Linked DNA regions of Homo sapiens: regions 2 and 3 are each linked to region 1. Evidence: promoter capture Hi-C in 16 types of primary human blood cells and fetal thymus (Javierre and others, 2016). All regions are on one chromosome and are shown on one strand. The core of a region is centred on a gene start or on the middle of the fragment in contact, and the rest is flanking DNA. Distances in the headings are between cores, read along the strand shown.

The links. Contacts are between HindIII fragments. The CHiCAGO score rates a contact against its expected background, and 5 or more counts as called.
Region 2: a contact is called between the fragment with the promoter of ZNF792 here and the fragment with the promoter of DMKN in region 1, in 3 of 17 cell types (naive B cells, naive CD4 T cells and total CD4 T cells). The highest score is 6.1, in naive B cells.
Region 3: a contact is called between a fragment that was not itself captured here and the fragment with the promoter of DMKN in region 1, in 1 of 17 cell types (total B cells). The highest score is 5.8, in total B cells.

The regions. Positions count from the first base shown.
Region 1 is chr19:35,512,360-35,514,974 of GRCh38, reverse strand. It overlaps DMKN (dermokine), which reads left to right and starts at 1,326. Exons shown (of 16, transcript NM_033317.5): 1 at 1,326-1,925; 2 at 2,185-2,385; 3 at 2,498-2,554. The coding sequence starts at 1,500. The HindIII fragment of the contact is 13,607 bases long and covers 1-2,615 here.
Region 2 is chr19:34,962,920-34,965,534 of GRCh38, reverse strand. ZNF792 (zinc finger protein 792) reads left to right here and starts at 1,306. Exons shown (of 4, transcript NM_175872.5): 1 at 1,306-1,905. The coding sequence starts at 1,873. It overlaps LOC124904699 (a long non-coding RNA gene), which reads right to left and starts at 2,109. Exons shown (of 2, transcript XR_007067236.1): 1 at 1,862-2,109. RefSeq lists silencers at 1,545-1,804, 1,915-1,964. The HindIII fragment of the contact is 6,406 bases long and covers 1-2,170 here.
Region 3 is chr19:34,980,974-34,983,588 of GRCh38, reverse strand. No RefSeq gene overlaps it. Among named protein-coding and RNA genes, the nearest start is that of GRAMD1A, 18 kb to the left of the region's middle. The HindIII fragment of the contact is 6,510 bases long and covers 1-2,615 here.

The DNA of each region.
Region 1 (2,615 bases), core at 77-2,576:
TTATTATTATTATTATTACCACCATCGCTATTATCATCATTAACGAGTCAGAGATGGAATAACAGGGAAGTAGGAGCTGAGGAGGACAGATGGGGATAGTGTTTACAAGGTAAGAAGTGTTGGATGTTATAAGCTGGGGTGCGGATATTGGGGTGGAGAGAAGAGAGAGACTGACTGAGAGACATTGAGAAAGGCTGATGGAAACTGGCCCCTCCTAACTGGGCGATGAACCCCAGTGATACGAAACAGTGGGAGGCCCTGTGGCCCCTGGGAATAGAGAAGCAGCCACACTTGCTGGGCAGGGGTGAGGCGGGGGGAGGCTCCCAGGTTCTGTATCCCGAGCTGGGACTGGGGAGAGGGCCGTGGCTCTCACGGATGGCTCCTGACCTTGCGCTACCCTCTTCTCGCTTGCCATTGCTGCCCTGGCCCCTGGCCTGGGGGATGGGTGGGGTGAGCTGGCCCAGTCCCGCCCCTCATAGGCGCTTATACTCACACGTGCCCCTCTAGGGCTGCGTAAACAGGATGGGTGCCTGGGTCAGCGGCTCCCTCCCTTGGCCTTCCCTCCCACTCGTTCCCTGGGGGTGGCTGGCGCGCCTGGCTGCCCTGCTCCGCGCCCAGCTTTCTCAGCCGGGAGCAGCCTGAACGCTGAGACACCCTGCTGACCACTCAAAGGGCTATGGCCACCTCCTTCCCCGACACCGAGGGTCCCCCCGGGGGCTCTCCCCAGAATCTCAGAAACTGACACGCAGCCCCGTGTTTGCCAGTCTCTCTCTGTGGGCTGGAAGGTGTGGAGGAACAAGAAGGCAGTCACCTGTAGGTGGCAATGCGGGAGGGGAGAGGGAGAGGAGAGGCTGAGGTGCTGAAACCGAGAAAGGCCAGGCCGAGGACGGGCAATGCCTGTCACTCTGGAGCCCCTGAGCCAGGCTGGCTGAGCCTGGGTGGGTCCTGTCCCCTGGGGCTTCCCTGTCCTTACTCCTTTGGTGGGGTCCTGCCAGTAACTCCTCTCTTCTAAGTCTGCCCCCACCCCACCGCCTCCAGGAGCCAACGACAACCTGTCTCCTTAGATGCCCCTGCCCCCACCCAGCTCCCCGAATGCCTGGGGTTGGGAAATGGGAGCACTTTTGCATCACCTCATCCATTTCTCCCTCCCTCCCTGATGCGGCTCACTCTCTGTTTCGACAGAGACTCTCAGACTCACAATAACAGCTGATTACCCTATTGGTGGCTGGGCCCTGAGTCACTGCGGGGAGGGACCTCAGGTTGCCCAGCCCTGTCACCTTCTCCCAACCTAGAGTATAAGGAGTAGTGACAGGGAGGTGGACTCTGAGAAGCCCAGGCAGTTGAGGACAGGAGAGAGAAGGCTGCAGACCCAGAGGGAGGGAGGACAGGGAGTCGGAAGGAGGAGGACAGAGGAGGGCACAGAGACGCAGAGCAAGGGCGGCAAGGAGGAGACCCTGGTGGGAGGAAGACACTCTGGAGAGAGAGGGGGCTGGGCAGAGATGAAGTTCCAGGGGCCCCTGGCCTGCCTCCTGCTGGCCCTCTGCCTGGGCAGTGGGGAGGCTGGCCCCCTGCAGAGCGGAGAGGAAAGCACTGGGACAAATATTGGGGAGGCCCTTGGACATGGCCTGGGAGACGCCCTGAGCGAAGGGGTGGGAAAGGCCATTGGCAAAGAGGCCGGAGGGGCAGCTGGCTCTAAAGTCAGTGAGGCCCTTGGCCAAGGGACCAGAGAAGCAGTTGGCACTGGAGTCAGGCAGGTTCCAGGCTTTGGCGTAGCAGATGCTTTGGGCAACAGGGTCGGGGAAGCAGCCCATGCTCTGGGAAACACTGGGCACGAGATTGGCAGACAGGCAGAAGATGTCATTCGACACGGAGCAGATGCTGTCCGCGGCTCCTGGCAGGGGGTGCCTGGCCACAATGGTGCTTGGGTGAGTGGCTGTGGGGCTGCATGTGGAAATGGGAGGCTGTGGGCTGCTGGGCTGAGATTCTTGGGAAACGGTTGAAAGGATGGATGGATCTCTTACTTGCAGGCTTCTGGGGCAGCTTCCTTCTATGTTCTGCCCCCCTCCTATGCCACCCTGGAGTCCCTCTGCCTGTCTCTCTCCTGGTCTCTTTATGATTTGCCCTGGCTCTTCTCTACCAGGGTCAGAGATGGTCCCACTAAGTGCAGGTATGTTGTTCTTGCAGGAAACTTCTGGAGGCCATGGCATCTTTGGCTCTCAAGGTGGCCTTGGAGGCCAGGGCCAGGGCAATCCTGGAGGTCTGGGGACTCCGTGGGTCCACGGATACCCCGGAAACTCAGCAGGCAGCTTTGGAATGAATCCTCAGGGAGCTCCCTGGGGTCAAGGAGGCAATGGAGGGCCACCAAACTTTGGGACCAACACTCAGGTAAAGTCACCCCCAGACCTGCTACCTGCCACCTCCCTCCCTCCAAGCCCACATGCTCCGCGTGCCTCCCTGGTCCCTCTGGATCCTACTCTCAGTCTCACCCTCTCTGCAGGGAGCTGTGGCCCAGCCTGGCTATGGTTCAGTGAGAGCCAGCAACCAGAATGAAGGGGTAAGAGGAAGGGGCTGGGAACAAATGAAGAAGCCACTGGGTGCAGGCTACAGAGAGCTGG
Region 2 (2,615 bases), core at 57-2,556, 550 kb after region 1:
TAATATTCCTTACTGGGGAAAGAATTCAGCGATATTTCTCTTACCCGTTTTTGGTAATAGGAGAAATATGGCTCTGTCCTGCCCGTCCCACAGGCAGCCAGACTTTAAGGTTATCTCCCTTGTTCCCTGAAAATCGCTGTTATCCTGTTCTTAAGGTGCCCAGATTTCATATTGTTCAAACACACATGCCCTACAAACAATCTGTGCAGTTAACGCAATCATCACAGGGTCCTGAGATGACATACATCCTCAGCTTACGAAGATGACAGGATTAAGAGATTAAAGTAAAGTCAGGCATAGGAAATCACAAGAGTATTGATTGGGGAAGCGATACATGTCCATGAAATCTTCACAATTTATGTTCAGAGATTGCAGTAAAGACAGGCATAAGAAATTATAAAAGTATTAATTTGGGGAACTAATAAATGTCCATGAAATCTTCACAATTAATGTTCTTCTGTCACGGCTTCAGCAGGTCCCTCCGTTCGGGGTCCCTGACTTCCTGCAACAATGTAGTGTTATTTTTCCCATTTTATTTACTGGATTTCAATGAGAGTCCCTGCTGTAAAGTTGGAGCCAGCATTGGAGTCCCCAGAGGGCTTGTTAAAACAGAGAAGGAGGCCTGGCACCATGGCTCACTCCTGCAATTCCCAACACTTTGGGAGGCCGAGGTGAGAGGATCACTTGAGCTCAGGAGTTTGAGACCAGCCTAGGCATCACAGGGAGATCCAGTCTCTACAAAAAATTTTAAAATTAGCTGTGTATGATGGTGCACGCCTGTATCCCATCTACCTGGTAGGCTGAGGCAGGAGGATAGCTTGAGCCCGAGATGGAGGCTGCAGTGAGCTATGATCAGGCCACTGCACTCCAGCCTGGACAACAGAACGAGACCCATCCCCCCCGCCCCCCCCGCAAAAAGTAGAGAAGGCTGAATCCCATCCCCAGAATTTCTGAGTCCTTAGATTTAAGTTGTTGCCCCAGAACCTGCATTTTCAGCCAGTCCCCAGGTGATGCTGATGTTGCTGGTTTGAGAAGCCCTGAATCAGAGCGACATTTAATATTACAACGCAAAGACCCCGCCCATTGGGTACTATCCCCATTTTCCAGTGTGAATTTAGGTCCCTTAGGGGTGAAGCGGCTGGCCGATGCCCACACGCGCAGGAAGAGCACTGGGGCTCTCCTCCTGGACCTCGGAGGGTGGGCGGGGTTTAGCGCGGGCGGCTGCAGGCTCGGGAGCGGCCCCTTTAAGGGGAAGGCCCGAGGGCTGCAGGCGGCGGCGGTGGAGACCCGACGAGATCCGCTCTCCTTCCCGCCCTGGACCCTCAGCCTGACGAGAGGCTGGGCAGAAACTCGCGATCCCCAGGCCCTGCCTGTGCACCAGCGGCTGGCGCCAGGCCAATGACAGTACGGGAGAGGGCAACTCTCCCGGCCGCCACGGTGGGGGCCGGAACTTCCTGCACTGCAGCCTCGCAGGTCATTTCCCGGCGGGGAGGCTGAGTCCCCAGGAGCTGGGGACCCCGAGTTGGGGGCGGGGCGGCTGGGGCTACGCCCGTGAAGCTGCCCCGCCGGCTTTCCCGGACCGCGAGGGGGACAGTGAGGCCGGGACCCCCTCCGCGCCTTTGCACCAGCCGTGACCCCTTGCAACGGGGGTACCCAGCGGAGCTGCGCGCTCTCGGCGCCCCCGGAGCCTGCGCCCCGGGCCCCTTGCGCATTTTGCACGGGGGAGACTGAGGCTAGGAGTGCGACCCTCAGCCCGGGGTCACACCTCGTCTGGGGCACGGCCAGGTGGGTGGTAGCCTCAGCCTGCGAGACCCCCTACCCCCGCCCCGTGGTTTCCCGCACCGTGGGGCCCTGCTCTGACCACAGACTCCGATGGCAGCGGCGGCGCTGCGGGACCCCGCGCAGGTGAGTGCTTGGACGTTAGGCCCTTCGCTGTCGGCCCCCCACGCTTCTGTTCTCGGTGTTGAGACGCAAAAGATGGCTTTGTTCTAGGACTTTTCGCCTTTCCCATTTCCTTGCTTTTGAGTCAGGGGACCCTGGAAGGGAGTTGCTCCCAGCTAGGATCCTGAATCAGGGCAGGGTTTATATAAAGTGGCTTCCGTTGCTGAAATGTAATGGGATGGAGGGAGAAAGGGCTTTGTAGGCACAGGAACCAGCGTGCGCAAAAGCTTGGGGGTGGGGTGGGGCACGGTGTGGAGACTGAGTTGGGAGTGTTCAAGGAACCCCACCCAGGTCAGTGTTATTAATATTATGTCTGCTGGAACCAGAGAGCAGGTGGGCTGAAGACAGCTCAGAACGGCAGAGCTGGGCCTCTGTTCTGAGGGTGTTGGGAGCCATGGAAGGTTTAGGGCAGAGGAGGAAGATGCTGTGACTCAGGTCTTAACAGGCTCCCTGTGGATGCACAGTGGAGAACTGAATATGGAGTGAGCCGCAAGCAGGGATGCCAAGGAGTAGCCTAATGGAATAGCCCAGGCCAGTGCTGCGGCTGGCCGGACCAGAGTGAGGACTGGAGGTAGAGGAAGTGATTGGGAACTTGATGTCTTTTAAGTCAAGCTGACCAAATTTTCCGATGTGGAGGGTGAGAAAGAGGAGGGAAGAATCCATGGTTTTTGGTT
Region 3 (2,615 bases), core at 55-2,554, 530 kb after region 1:
ACAGAGCGAGAATTTGTCTCTTTTTTTTTTTTTTTTTTTGAGATGGAGTCTCTCTGTGACGCCCAGGCTGGAGTGCAGTGGCTCAATCTCGGCTCACTGCAAGCTCCGCCTCCCGGGTTCACGCCATTCTCCTGCCTCAGCCTTCCGAGTAGCTGGGACCACAGGTGCCCACCACCACGCCTGGCTAATTTTTTGTATTTTTAGTAGAGAAGGGGTTTCACCGCGTTAGCCAGGATGGTCTCGATCTCCTGACCTTGTGATCCGCCCGCCTCGGCCTCCCAAAGTGCTGGGATTACAGGCATGAGCCACCGTGCCCAGCCGCTGAGAATTTGTCTCTAAAAAACAATGACAAACTAAAAGGAAAACTTCTGGAAAGCAGAATAAAAGACAAAAGTGGATAATAAGAGACAATATAAGAAAATTAGAGGATAAATTCAGAAATTCCAAAAAAGAGAAAACAGAAACTCCAGTAGTGAAGAAAGTATTAAAGAAATGTCCCCATAACTGAAAGAAATTTGAAGAGCCTGCAGAGTGCTCCACAATTGTTAAAATATGGTAATAATATTTCAGAACATCAGTTCTAGAGGTTTCCAGAGAGAGAAAAAAAAAAAGCCAAACAGATCACAGTCAAAGGATCACAGGTGGGAGGACATTGGACACTCTGGGGAAAAACTGCTGTTTAACCTGGACTTCTATCAAATTATCACTCAAGTGGAAACAGGGTTAGACATTTTCAGACAAACAAAGTCTCAAAAAGTTTCCTCCCAAACAGTCTTTCTCAGGAAGCTCCTGGAAGATATTTTCACCCTAAACAAGGGAGTAAACCAGGAAAGAGAAAATGGAGGACCAACATGACTAGATGGTGAAGTGAAGTCCCAGCAGGAGAATCATGCAGCTGGCTTGAAGAAAGTATAGATTGGAGCAGAAGGACAGAGATTGGAGTTTAAATTATTCAAAGCAGAGAAAAGGACAAATCTCAACTACAGTTGTAAAGAAAAGCAAAAAGTTTGCATGAGAAAGAAATGTAAGGACAGCGCACGACATAGCTCATCTCTAACATTTTCCTGATCTCCATAACATAATCAGTGAACTTAATAAAAATCATGACATGACAATTCTGGGAGGATTGAAGGGGGGGGAAGGAAATATGTGTGTGGGAGAGGAGTGAAAAGAGCGAATTCATCATCTTCTAGTAAAAAGTAAGTTGATAATATATAACATTCAAATTCAAGACTGTATATAAACCTGCTATTTATAAACGTGGAGCCGGGCACAGTGGCTCATGCCTGCAATTCCAGCACTTTGGGAGGCTGAGATGGGCGGATCACTTGAGGTCAGGAGTTCGAGACCAGCCTGGCCAACACGGTGAAACCCTGTCTCTACTAAAAATACAAAAATTAGCCTGGTGTGGCGGTGCATGCCTGTAATCCCAGTTACTTGAGAGGCTGAGGCTGGAGAATTGCTTGAACCCGGGCGGCAGAGGTTGCAGTGAGCGGAGATGGCACTGCTGCACTACAGCCTGGGCAACAGAGTGAAATTCCAACTCAAAAAAAAAAAAAAAAGGAGATGAAAATAGAACTATGCACTAAAAGAGAGAGTGGCTAATTCTGGAGAGGGGGATGGGGTGGGACGGCATGGAGTAGAGAAGAGAGCTGCTGGGTTTAGAAATCTTGTTGAATTCTTTGACTTTTGCTATTGTGCATTTATATGACTGATTAGAATTAAAATTTTAAAAGTTTGCAACTGGTAGAGCCAAGAATTTTGAGTTTAAGAATCCCAAACTGATGGAAATACTTATAATACACACAAAAATTTTTGTTTACGGATGGCCTAGGCAGTATAGTTTGCAATGAGGACAAAGAAAAAAAATGCGTTGTGTTTGATATTTACAGGATATTATTAATGGGACATTATAATTAATTGTTTTATTTTCCCCACTGCTGACATGCCTGTGTGAATTTGCTAAGCTAGTGGTTTGATGACTTATTTGTAATGCACTTTTAGAGCATCGTAAACACCTAATAAACACATGTGGAATACAGGTGTTTCAAAACGATAAGTAACAAAAAAGAGACACATTTTATTGTATATAAACTATCCTTCAATAATACTGATTAAAATGCAAAAGAGATATTAGAATATGCAAATTATTCAGCAACATAAAGCAATAATAGAAGAGCCAAAAGACGAAAATGATTGATTATGGGATGTGGATGCAAGGTAGAGGACAGTTATTTATTTATATGTCTTTTATTGTTTGTTTGTTTATTTATTTATTTTTTGTGACAGGGTCTTGCTCTGTCACCCAGGCTGGAGTGCAATGATGCCATCCCAGCTCACTGCAGCCTTGGTCTTCCATGCCCAAGCCATCCTCCCACCCCAGCCTCTTGAGTAGCTGGGACTACAGGCACATGCCACCATGCCTGGCTAATTTTTGTATTGTTTGTAGGCATGGAGTCTCACCATCTTGCCCAGGCTGGTCTCAAAACCCTGGGTTCATTCCGTCTGCCTGCCGGTCTCCCAAAGTGCTGGAATTACAGATGGGAGCCACTGGACCCAGCCATGTCTTTTAATGCTGCATGATATTTAAATGTTAAATATGTATATTTTAGCAC